Regions from separate parts of the Homo sapiens genome. Here all the other regions are linked to region 1. Evidence: promoter capture Hi-C in 16 types of primary human blood cells and fetal thymus (Javierre and others, 2016). All regions are on one chromosome and are shown on one strand. The core of a region is centred on a gene start or on the middle of the fragment in contact, and the rest is flanking DNA. Distances in the headings are between cores, read along the strand shown.

Region 1 (3,960 bases), core at 83-2,582:
AATGATGTGGCAAGAAGGGGGGATTATGTGTTCCCCAAAGCGGTGGGAAAAGAAGGAGAAGAAAGCTGGAGTATAGGAGAAAACAATGGCACAAATGTGGGCAGTGCAGGTATTAAAGGCCTTCTGCCGAGCATCTGCTGAGGAGAGGCTGACCACTGCCCGGAGAATCATGGTATAGGAGTTGGTGATACACAGTATGTCAAAGCCCCAAATCAGGAGGGCAACCATCAGACCATAGATGGCATTGACCTTGACATTACCACAGGACAATTTGGCTACAGACATGTGGTCACAGTAGGTATGGGGAAGTATATTGCCTCTGCAGTAGGGCAGGAGCTTGGTGAGGAAAGTAAAGGGAATAATGAGTAATACCCCTCTCAGGAAGGTGGCAGTCCCAACCTTTGCAATTACAGGATTGGTGAGGATAGTTGAATAGCGTAAGGGGTAGCAGATGGCCACATAGCGATCCAGGGCCATAAGCATAAGCACCCCAGACTCCATCCCTGTGAAGGTGTGGGTGAAGAACATCTGGACAAGGCATTCATCAAATCCAATGTCCTTGAGATGAAACCAGAAGATGCAGAGGGCTTTAGGGATTGTACTAGAGCACATAACAAGGTCAGTAAAGGAAAGCATGGCCAAGAAGTAGTACATGGGTTTGTGCAGGGCATCCTCATAGTGAATGAGGTAGAGGAGTCCACAATTCCCTACCATAGCCACAACATACATAGAGCAGAATGGGAAGGAAATCCAGAGTTGTGTGTCTTCCAGTCCTGGGACTCCATTCAGAATAAATGAAGCTGGTATTAGGTCTGTTTTATTCAGTGTTAGCATGATAAGTCTGGTAGGTTATGAAATAGCTCAAAATTTGTCTGGGCTTTCCTAGAGTTAAAAAAAAAAACAAGAGAAAATATAGGTTATTTTTACTGTCTCCCTCTCCCCCAACTTTTAAAAATTCCATAATGCATTTTAATGGTCCAACAACCAAATTTCTGAGTGCCAAGAAATAATTTTGTTTGTCTGTTTAGTTTTATTGATTGATTAATTAATTGATTCAGTAAAAAATTCTTATTGAGCAGTCTAAGTTTTCAACACAGATGCCAATCAAACATCAATTATTTTATAAAAAGACATATTCCCAATCTCATAGATTTATAATCAAGTATAATTCTGACTTTTCAAATGGTATTTTTATTAGAATATCTTACTTAACTATAACTATACTCATCTCAATATAGATATAATTTTAAAGAAGAGTCATTTGATTACCTCACTGATGATCTGAGAGATGAGATGTTGACTTTTTAATTTTTATTCTTAATGACTGACTGATATTTATTCTTGGGTACTCAGGCACTGTTCAAAGAATTTTGAAATTTTAATTAAATTATTACTCAATGAAGCTTGGGGTCTCAAAAATTAGTAAATTTATTGGGTGTCTATACTCAATAATAATTTAATTGTATATTTTAAAATAACTAAAATAATATAATTGGGTTGTCTGTAACACAAAGGATAAATGTTTGAGATGATGGATACCCCTATTTACTTTACTGGGATTTTTTTTTTTTTTTTTTTTTTTTTTTGAGGCAGAGTCTTGCTTTGTTGCCCAGGCTGGAGTGCAGTGGCGCAATCTTGGCTGCAACCTCCACCTCCCGGATTCAAGCAATTCTCCTGTCTTAGCCTCCCGAGTAGCTGCGACTACAGGCACATGCCACCACGCCCAGCTAATTTTTGTATTTTTAGCAGAGATGGGGTTTCACTATATTGGTCAGGTTGGTCTCCAACTCCTGACCTCAGGTAATCCACCCACATCAGGCTCCCAAAGTGCTGGGATTACAGGCATGAGCCACTGTGCCCGGCCCTTTAAAAGGGATTATTACACATTGTATGCTTCTATCAAAATATCTCATACACCCATAAATATATACACCTACTATGTGCCCACAAAAATTTAAAATTAAAAAAGTCAATGAAGTTTTGATTCAATTTTTTCACTTTTCAAGATATCTTTCTTGTTCTTTATGTATCTAGTCAACGCAAACTAGAAGATATCCAAATGCATACATACAGAAAATATATAAAGTACTTCAACAACATCAGTAAGAAAAAGTTGCAGGAAGAAACATACACTTCAAAAGAGAAATAAAATTGCCAATGAACAGGTAAATAGGCACAAACTTTTATATTAATCAGAAAAATAAGTAAAAATTGTATCTCTCATGACAAAGCACCTTTTTTTGGTATGTAGTGACATACCAAACAGGACAGCTAAAATGAAAAGAACTAAAAATACCAAGCATTGGCAAAGATGTAGAACAACTGGAACTCTCATTTACTGCTGGTAGACATGTAAATTAGAACAACTCTTTATTAGATATCTCATAATGATAAACATACACATGACCACCATTGCCATTTCCAACAAAACTATGTATATATATTTACTAGAATACATCAATTAGAATGCTTATTGAAACATGATTTGTAGTATAGCCTAAAACTGGAAAAAACCTAAATGTTCATCAACATCAAATGGGTAAATAAATTTTGGTACATTCCCACAATGAAATACCACGTAACAATAAGAATAAACAATCTATGACTATATGCATAATATAGACGAATCTCACAATATGTGTTAATTTTTTTTAGAAAGACTTAAAATAGATGTAACATCTTGTGATCTTTAAATGAAATACAAAAACGGATCAAATTATTCTGTGCTATTAGAAATAGAAAAATCTTTTTAAAAAGTGAGAGAGAGTGATAACTGAAAGGCAGTATGTGGTAGAAGGGTCCTGTTAGTTGCTGGTCATATTCCCTTACTTGATTTGGTTGTGAGATATACAAGATTCAGGTTGTAAAAATCAATCAACATGTAATTGGATTAATTGTAAAATTGCATATGTATGTTAGAATTTATAATAACAAAAATTAAATTGCCAAGAGGATTAAAGGACGTAATATGTTAAAACATGCTACCACATTTTAAGTGCTCAATACCCATATTTGTATTTTCTACTCAGGCTGGCAGCCATTTTGGCAATGCTTACAAAAATTAACACCATAGGAATCATGAGTGCCACCAAATGAACTCTCTTTTGTGCCCCATCAGAGGAGGTATTCATCCTAACCTCCATTAATAAAATACACTGTTTTAAGATTAGCATCTGATAGGAAGTACAGTCACATGTTCTGCCTTATTGGGTAAGATGAAGAGGACAGATCAGATTTATCAAAAGGCAACTTGTTTTGAAAATAGTAGAAAAACACAGGTTAAACTTGTTAATAGGCATGCTCCTCAAAGATATGTACTCAAGTCATTACAAAATGTCAGAGTTATACTGGGTGTCATAGGAGCACCTGTGTGTCTAACCTAGCCTCAGGAGATGCTCCTAGAGAAGAGGACAGATGCTTCCAGACCTGGAGCATGATTAGAATTCTGACAGGTCAAAGTGGTAGGAACAGCATTTTCTTCTGTTGCTGTTTGCTGTTTCCTACTCATATCGCACTGACATTCTCAGCTTTGTGATAGGCAAACCTCTATCTCCTTGGTGCTCCCTTTGCCCACTCCCCTCAAATGTAGCTAATCCCTATACATTCTTCAAGCAGAACCATCATCAGGAGGTCTCAAATGTCCTTTGGACATGATAGCGACCCATCCTTTAAATTATTTTAAGATAATGTAGCTACCAATAGCCTTGACTAGGGGTAAGAAATTGATTTGTTCAAACAATTATTCTCTTTAATAATATTTCCCTCATGATATTATGAAAATCAACTTATATTTAGGAATTCTCCAAAATTCAGTGAAATCACCGATGTAAGGACAGTGTCTGGTAAAGCATCCTCAGAGCCGAGCAAATCAAATCTCTCATATTAGATACTCAATAAATGTCAATTTTAAAATAAATAAACAAATAAGTAAATGAAAAAGTGAATGACTCACCCGAAACA
Region 2 (3,960 bases), core at 314-2,813, 240 kb after region 1:
TTTAATAATGGTCTAGGTGGATTTGATAGGGAAAAAGTAAAATATTAGCTAAGAAAATGGTACCCTCTCTTTCTGATGCTTTGGCATCTCATATTCCTTTTTTCATAAATCCAGCTCCCGGAACTCAAGAGTTCTGTGATCTAGAATTGTCAATCTCAGGTTGGGAACACCTGATTCCAGTGCAGAAGCTGCAGGGCAGCTGGTCATTAGAGTAGGATATGAAAGTTCCCTTTCTTATCTCCACCTTCCTGTGAGGTCCCTGGGGAGAAAAGGGGCAAGATCTTGGTCTGGTAATCAATTTTTCATTGTCCTGGATCGATCTCACTTTTGAGTGCAATTGCAAGAGAATAGGCCTGAGTCTTGCTGTAGTAAGTTAGCAACTGGCCTTATAGCATGATGAGGATCTGACATGGATGGTGCTGGGGGTCTAGATATTCTCAATAAAGAATCATTGGTTTGATAGCAGAAGGTCTCCTGGCCAACGGCCTATCATCCCTTTGCTTGTCTTCAACACACTGGGAACATATGGGCTCGAGCTTTTTGCTTGTTCCTTAGCTATCTGTGTGGTGCTCCTCCCTCTCCAGGCAGGTGGATGGAATATATAAAATCCAGACCCTGAAGGCTTCCTAGTAACACAGAATATGCATACAATTTCATATATACATTCGATAAGACATGTACACTCTCACTCATATAAATAATTATTTCCATCTGCATCTAAATAAAAACCAAACACAATTCTCCAAATTTACATGGGACCAAGAATCCAGCTTTTTAGTTGCCTGTATTTGTCCCCTTAAGAATTTTACTACTAACCACCTCCTCTCCCACCTCTTGATTTACAGACGACATTCCCCCTTAATGCTTTGACATAAAGGTGGGCACACAAGAGTGGGTTAGGACATTGAAACAAATCATTCTAAAACTTCTGTTATATTGACATGTAGAAGAGACCAAGTGATATGTGAATAAAAGGCATATTATAAAAAAGAGCTAATTCACATTTAGTTTGGCATGTGCCTATGAAGAGCCTTCCTGGTTAGCCCTACTCCTGCTTCCTAGGACAGAGGAAAATTTTCCCCACCACATGGGAGCACAATTAAATATAGAATCCCAAAATCTAGACTCTATATAAGACCCAAATTTCCAGATCATTAAAAAAATTAATGCGCTCCTTCCTATGGGAGAGACTGCATTCTTATAGGAATGTGGCTTTATCTATGGCTTCAGTAGACCCAACTTTTCATACAAGTCTAACATCCCTATAAGGAACATACACACAGTATCACACGGAAACACACATCCCACATTTAAAAATATGGTTTTTATTTACTTTTTTGTTTTCTTACTAGTTCCATCCAGAGAACTTTGTCCCTGTTTTCTGGAAAATTATTTTATTTTATTGTAGAGCCCTGGACCCCTAAATATGTCCTCCTTCCCCAGCTGGCCCAGGGTGACTGCGAGGATAGAGTTGACATCACAATATCCCTTTTCTGAGGATTCATGCCCCTGGTGGGTGGGGTAGGAGGAGGGGTAGCCCTAGGAGAAGTCATCACCACTTTGTCCACCATGGGTGAATTATGAATCAGTAGCTATGCCAGGCCTCAGCTGGGCCACATCTGGAGAACTGGGGTGAGGGCACAACATCACAAAATATCTGGCCCCAGTCTGGTCACTCATCCCTTTTAGGGCAACAAGGAAACTATCCTGTGGCCTGAGAGCACAATACCTGAGACAAAGGCCAGCAGAAACATTTGTCTGCCCTCACCCTTTCTGCCCCAGCTTCCACCTGCTCCCCATCTGCCCACCCACTAAAGCCCATGTGGCATGCCATCTCTCGAACATCCAGGATGTCCCAGAGTGGATGTCCATCAGGTCTGCTGGCAGACAAAAATATCTCTTCAAGTGCCACTCGAGTGATAGTGAAGACTGCAGGCAACCAGAAAGACTTTATGGTAGCTGATGACATCTCGGTAAGGCAGTTCAAGGAGATGCTATTGGCTCACTTCCAATGCCAGATGGACCAACTAGTGCTGGTCTTCATGGGTTGCCTTCTCAAAGACCATGACACACTGAGCCAGAGGGGCATCATGGATGGCCACACCATCTACTTGGTCATCAAGTCCAAGCAGGGCTCCAGATCTCTAGCCCATTCCTTCCGGGACCTGCCAACGAATGATCCCTGCCACCGGGACAGAAACACCAAAGGAAACAGCAGCAGAGTGCACCAACCAACTGGTATGAATCAAGCTCCAGTGGAACTGGCCCACTTTGTGGGGTCTGATGCACCCAAAGTGCATACCCAAAACTTGGAAGTGAGCCACCCAGAGTGCAAAGCACAGATGCTGGAGAATCCTAGCATCCAGCGGCTTCTGTCCAACATGGAGTTCATGTGGCAGTTCATTTCAGAACATCTAGACACGCAACAATTGATGCAGCAGAACCCAGAAGTTTCCCGCCTTCTTCTTGATAATTCTGAGATCCTATTGCAGACTCTGGAGCTGGCCAGGAACCTTGCTATGATCCAAGAGATAATGCAGATCCAACAACCTTCACAAAACCTTGAGTATCCACTGAACCCACAGCCATATCTGGGCTTAGAGACAATGCCAGGTGGGAATAATGCCCTGGGTCAGAACTATGCTGATATCAATGATCAAATGCTGAACAGCATGCAAGATCCTTTTGGAGGAAACCCTTTCACAGCTCTCCTGGCAGGACAAGTGCTAGAACAAGTCCAGTCTTCACCCCCACCTCCACCACCATCACAGGAACAACAAGACCAGCTCACACAGCATCCTGCAACCCGAGTCATCTATAATAGCTCTGGTGGTTTCTCTTCAAACACCTCAGCCAATGACACCCTTAACAAGGTCAACCACACTTCCAAAGCCAACACTGCTATGATTTCCACCAAGGGCCAGAGCCATATCTGTGCCACTCGGCAGCCAGCTTGGATACCAGCCTTACCTAGCATAGAGCTTACCCAGCAGCTTCAAGAAGAATACAAGGATGCCACTGTTTCTCTAAGTAGCTCCAGACAGACATTAAAGGGTGATCTCCAGCTGTCAGATGAGCAGAGCAGCTCCCAGATCACAGGAGGCATGATGCAGTTGCTTATGAACAACCCCTACCTGGCAGCTCAGATTATGTTGTTCACAAGTATGCCCCAGCTGAGTGAACAGTGGAGGCAGCAGCTGCCCACATTCCTGCAGCAGACACAGATTTCTGATCTGCTTAGTGCTTAGGCAACCCTAAAGCATTCCAAGCAATATTGCAGATTGAGCAGGCCCTCCAGCTGCTGGCCACAGAGGCTCCTGTTCTTCTGCCTTGGGTTGCACCCTACCTATGGGGCCTGGGTTGGCTTCCTGCCCCCAGCTGCAGCTATCCTGACACAGTGCCCTGTTCCTGGAATGTTTCAGATACAGCTGAGCCCAAGGGACCTGAGTGCTGCCACAAGCCTGGAACAGTCCTGCAGAGGCTACAATCCCCGGATGGGGACCCTTCCCACCCTCTGCAAGCTCCTGAGATTTGTTTTAGCAAACAGATGGATTCTCTCCAGGCCATGGGATTTGGGAACCACCATGCCAATCTACAGGCACTCATTGCTACTGAAGGGGACACCAATGCTGCTATCCGCAAGCTCAAGAGATCCCAGAGATTCTAACCACCATGCCTACTTGTTTGCTTGCTACCTGCCTGCTGACCCACCTGACCATCTCATTTGCCTTTTGCACCTTTCCTGATGCTTCCAGCCAGGAGAAGTCCTGGAATAAGAGTTATCAACCAATGTGTCTTGTACTGAATAATAGATCATTGGTCGTGGCTGAAACATCTGTCAATAAAATGGCTACACTCACTTGCTGCGATCTGAGGTTTGGCTTTACTTCTTTTGCAAAAAAAAAAAGAAAAAACTAGCTGTGTGAGATTTTTGTCTCACCTACTATATGTACATTAACA
Region 3 (3,960 bases), core at 423-2,922, 210 kb after region 1:
TCCTAGGCTACAAAACTGTACATCATGTTACTATACCGAATATTGTAGGGAAGTATAATATAATGGTATTTGTGCATCTAAACATGTCTAAACATAGACAAGGTACTCTAAAATATGGTATTGTAATCTTATGGGACAATTGTTCAGAAACATTGTTATGTGGCATATTACAAAGTATAAATAGAAAAGGCAAAAAGAAAAGTAGAAAGATTTTTAAAAATTAAGACAAAAAATAGGCCGAAAATACACTTTCCACCTGCTATGAATTTTTGTTCTCTTATTATATGTGGGTCAGAAATTGAGCTGTAAGCTTTCTAACAGTCTATGTGAGAGTTAAACATGATTAGCTACATAATTCATGATGGCTATAAGTTACAGACAGTTAATTGTTAGAGAAGCAAAACTACTTCTTATATGAAGAATGGAGAAATATCTTTAGAAAGCTCTTAAAGAATAGGCAGTAAGTGATGCAATTAATCACATTCTTACAGAATACACAAGTTCATGTGACTCTTCAGTCCCTTATCCTAGTATAGAGAGGTGAAGCAACCTCAATTTTTATTCAGCGAAAGGTAAAAATTCTGTTGGGAGCCAATACAATACTAATCTCATTAGTTCTGGTTTATTCCAGATATTCTAGAACATTCAGAGTACTGAGTGGACTCCTGGCAATCTTTATTAATTAACACATTCAACAATATTTAGCAAACGTTTGACAAACATTGACAAAAACTGACTTGGCTTTCAGAATTGTTGGGTAAAAGCCTCTTAGGTAAAAATTGATATCTGGACTTGCAGAAATTCCTGACAGTACCAGCTGGTAGACCTAACAGTTTCTCCATAAGAATATATTTTATTTGCTCATATTGTTTTTACCAATAAAAATGTTTAATGAAGTTTAATGTTTTAAAAATTATAAGTGGGAGATAAGCTATAGGTATGCAAGGGCACACATAGTAGTATAATGGACATTGGAGACCCAGAAGAGGAGAAGCTAGGAGAGGGGTGAGGGATGAAACATCACCTATTGAGTACAATCTACGCAATATGGGTGACAGGTACGCTAGAAACCCAGACTTCAACCTTATACAATTCACCCATGTAATCAAAAAACACTTGTACCCCTAAAGCCACTGGAATTTTTAAAAGATAATATTAGAATTATTTCATGTGGGCCATATAATTTTCATCTTAACAGGTGCCCTAGGTTATTCCTTTACACCATAAGTTTGCCGATATGTTAAGCATTTTCACTAGCAGTATCCTATTAATTTGTCAATCCTTATAAAATCTTGAGAGACAGGTACTAATATGACCACCTTTTAATGGAAATTAAGTAACTCATCCAAAGTCCTTTATCTGGTAAGTGAGGGCATGAACTTGAAACCTGGGTGATATGATAGGCACATACACACAGCTTTCCACCCACATACACATCAGCTTACAAATAAATAAATAAATAAAGCACTCTAAGGCAGTGTTAACTCAAAGGCATGAACAAGGTTAATAGAATCTTTTTCATCTTCTTCCCTTGAGGGTGAGAAGAGGGCATGTCAGAGTCTCTAATCCCCTAACTACCTACCTTTTCCCCACAAGGAGCAGTGAGTGATCAGAGAAAATAAATGGACAGGGAATCAACCTCTCTAACGTCCTTCCTTTTCCTTCCACTCATGTTTTTTTTTGGTTGGTGTGTCTGCTGTCTTGTAGATTTTGTCAACACACTCTTTCTTCTTTCCCTTTGGCCTGATCCCCAAGATTTGGTGAGTATTGGCTGTTTGAAGGGGTTTGATTGGGACAAGACTTAGAGAAAGTGAGTGAAAAGCCAGGGCTCTATTTCTTAGGGACCATGGGCTGGGCACTATAATTTTCTTTCCTGAGCAACTCCCATTTATAAACTGAGGTCCTGATCTCCAGTACTTGTGTATATGCTCCACTGAGTTAAGCATCAAAAGATCAGAACAGATGGACAATTACACAGCTGCGTTAAGTATGACCACAGTTAGCAGTGTTAGGAAATTTCTGTTTCAGACATGTGACAAGAGTCCATAACTCTAACTTAAAATGTAGAATTAAGTGTGCTGGTATGTGTGTATGCCCAGGGGTGCTCCTGTTAATTTTTATCCATCTTGCAATTTCTGTTCTCTTTTCCACTGCATGGTCTGGTTGTTAATGATAATACTAATGATATAAAATATAACCTAATATAAAGAAGTAAAACTTGTTACATGCTTACTATGTTTCAGGTACTATATTAAAGAATATTTTTCGGCTGGGCGTGGTGGCTCACGCCTATAATCCCAGCACTTTGGGAGGCTGAGGCAGGTGGATCACAAGGTCAGGAGTTCAAGACCAGCCTGGCCAACATAGTGAAACCCGTCTCTACTAAAAATACAAAGAAATTAGCCAGGCATAGTGGCGGGCACCTGTAATCCCAGCTACTCGGGAGTCTGAGACAGGAGAATCACTTGAACCATGGAGGTGGAGGTTGCAGTGAGCCAAGATTGTGCCACTGCACTCCATCCTGGGCAACAGTGCAAGACTCTGTCTCAAAAAAAAAATTCTTTTTTCAATGTGTATCATTTTGTCCTAATAATAATTATAAAAATTAGAAATATTAATTTCTTTTAAAAACATAGGAACCCAAATATCATGTAGTTTAAATAGCTTGCCCAGATTCACATAGCTAGTAAATTGTGGAACCAGGATTAAATTGTGAAACCTAGCTTTCTGAGGCTCCAGAGTACATGCTCTGTGCCAATATTTTGCTAACATACTGTGGATGCCTGAGAGTATGTATGTGTATCTACCATAATACCATAATTATTGCTGATAAAATTAACACTAGTTCCTTTATATCACTCAATACCTAGTCCATATTTAAGTTTCCCTAACTATTCATTAATTGAATTCAATACCTGGTTTGTTTAAACAGAATTCAATCAAGAACTACACTGCAGGCCGAGCGTGGTGGCTCACGCCTGTAATCCCAGCACTTTGGGAGGCTGAGGTGGGTGGATCACCTAAGGTCAGGAGTTCGAGACCAGCCTGGCCAACATGGTGAAAGCCCGTCTCTACTGAAAATACAAAAATTAGCTGGGGGTGGTGGCGGGCGCCTGTAATCCCAGCAACTCGGGAAGCTGAGGCAGGAGAATCGCTTGAACCGGGGAGGCGGAGGTTGCAGTGAGCCGAGATCGTGCCACAGCACTCCAGCCTGGGTGACAGAGTGAGACTCTGTCTCAATAAAATAAATAAATAAATAACCACACTGCATTTATTTGTTTTTCTCTTAAATGTACTTTAATCTGGAAATGGATTTTCCTTATCTAATATTCCCCTTCCCCCTTTAATGGCATTGACTTGAAAAAAGAAAACAGATTGTTGTAGATTTTTCCACATTGTGGATTTGTCTGATTGTTAAATGAGAGAGTTAACCGTCTGTGCACCCGTGTGTGTTTGTGAATGCTTTTGGATGACTTCATGAACATCTGTTGTATTTGAGTTCATGGAAATACAAAAACTTGAGAAAACCTTTCCTCACATATGTATGAATAAAGGATGACCTCAGACAAGTTGGGAGTGCTGTGAGTTGTTATAGAGGCATTACTGGGGAAGAAGGTATAGGACCAGTGGAGAGGTTTTAGGAATTTACAAAGCCTGTGACAGTGACAAAATCTAATTGTGAAACATTTTGTTTATATTGTCAGCACATGTGTCGGGGGAAGATGGGAGGACAGGGGGCTTGTAATTGTGTAAGATTATGTATGGGTAAATATATGGTGGCAAAATATATGACAGAATGTAAGTGTAGGTCTGGATATGCCTGAGAATGTAAGTATTAAGGGTCTGTGTTTGAGAGAGTATGTGTCTTGGGTCGATGTGTCTCTCTAATAGATGTATGTTCACAAAAAAGCAGTCCTTCTTTTGGACAGAAACCTTGACTGATAGTGTCACTAAGTCCAC

The links. Contacts are between HindIII fragments. The CHiCAGO score rates a contact against its expected background, and 5 or more counts as called.
Region 2: the fragment with the promoter of UBQLNL here is called in contact with the fragment with the promoter of OR52N4 in region 1 in 4 of 17 cell types (M2 macrophages, activated CD4 T cells, total CD8 T cells and 1 more); the score reaches 7.1 in M2 macrophages.
Region 3: the fragment with the promoter of OR52H1 here is called in contact with the fragment with the promoter of OR52N4 in region 1 in 11 of 17 cell types (activated CD4 T cells, M2 macrophages, total CD8 T cells and 8 more); the score reaches 8.2 in activated CD4 T cells.

What each region holds. Positions count from the first base shown.
Region 1 is chr11:5,751,615-5,755,574 of GRCh38, reverse strand. It overlaps OR52N4 (olfactory receptor family 52 subfamily N member 4), which reads right to left and starts at 1,332. Exons shown (of 2, transcript NM_001005175.5): 1 at 1,270-1,332; 2 at 1-882. The coding sequence starts at 834. The HindIII fragment of the contact is 4,248 bases long and covers 1-1,405 here.
Region 2 is chr11:5,514,302-5,518,261 of GRCh38, reverse strand. It overlaps UBQLNL (ubiquilin like), which reads left to right and starts at 1,563. Exons shown (of 1, transcript NM_145053.5): 1 at 1,563-3,869. The coding sequence starts at 1,821. The coding sequence ends at 3,248. The HindIII fragment of the contact is 7,757 bases long and covers 1-3,960 here.
Region 3 is chr11:5,546,252-5,550,211 of GRCh38, reverse strand. It overlaps OR52H1 (olfactory receptor family 52 subfamily H member 1), which reads left to right and starts at 1,672. Exons shown (of 2, transcript NM_001005289.5): 1 at 1,672-1,760. The HindIII fragment of the contact is 4,857 bases long and covers 313-3,960 here.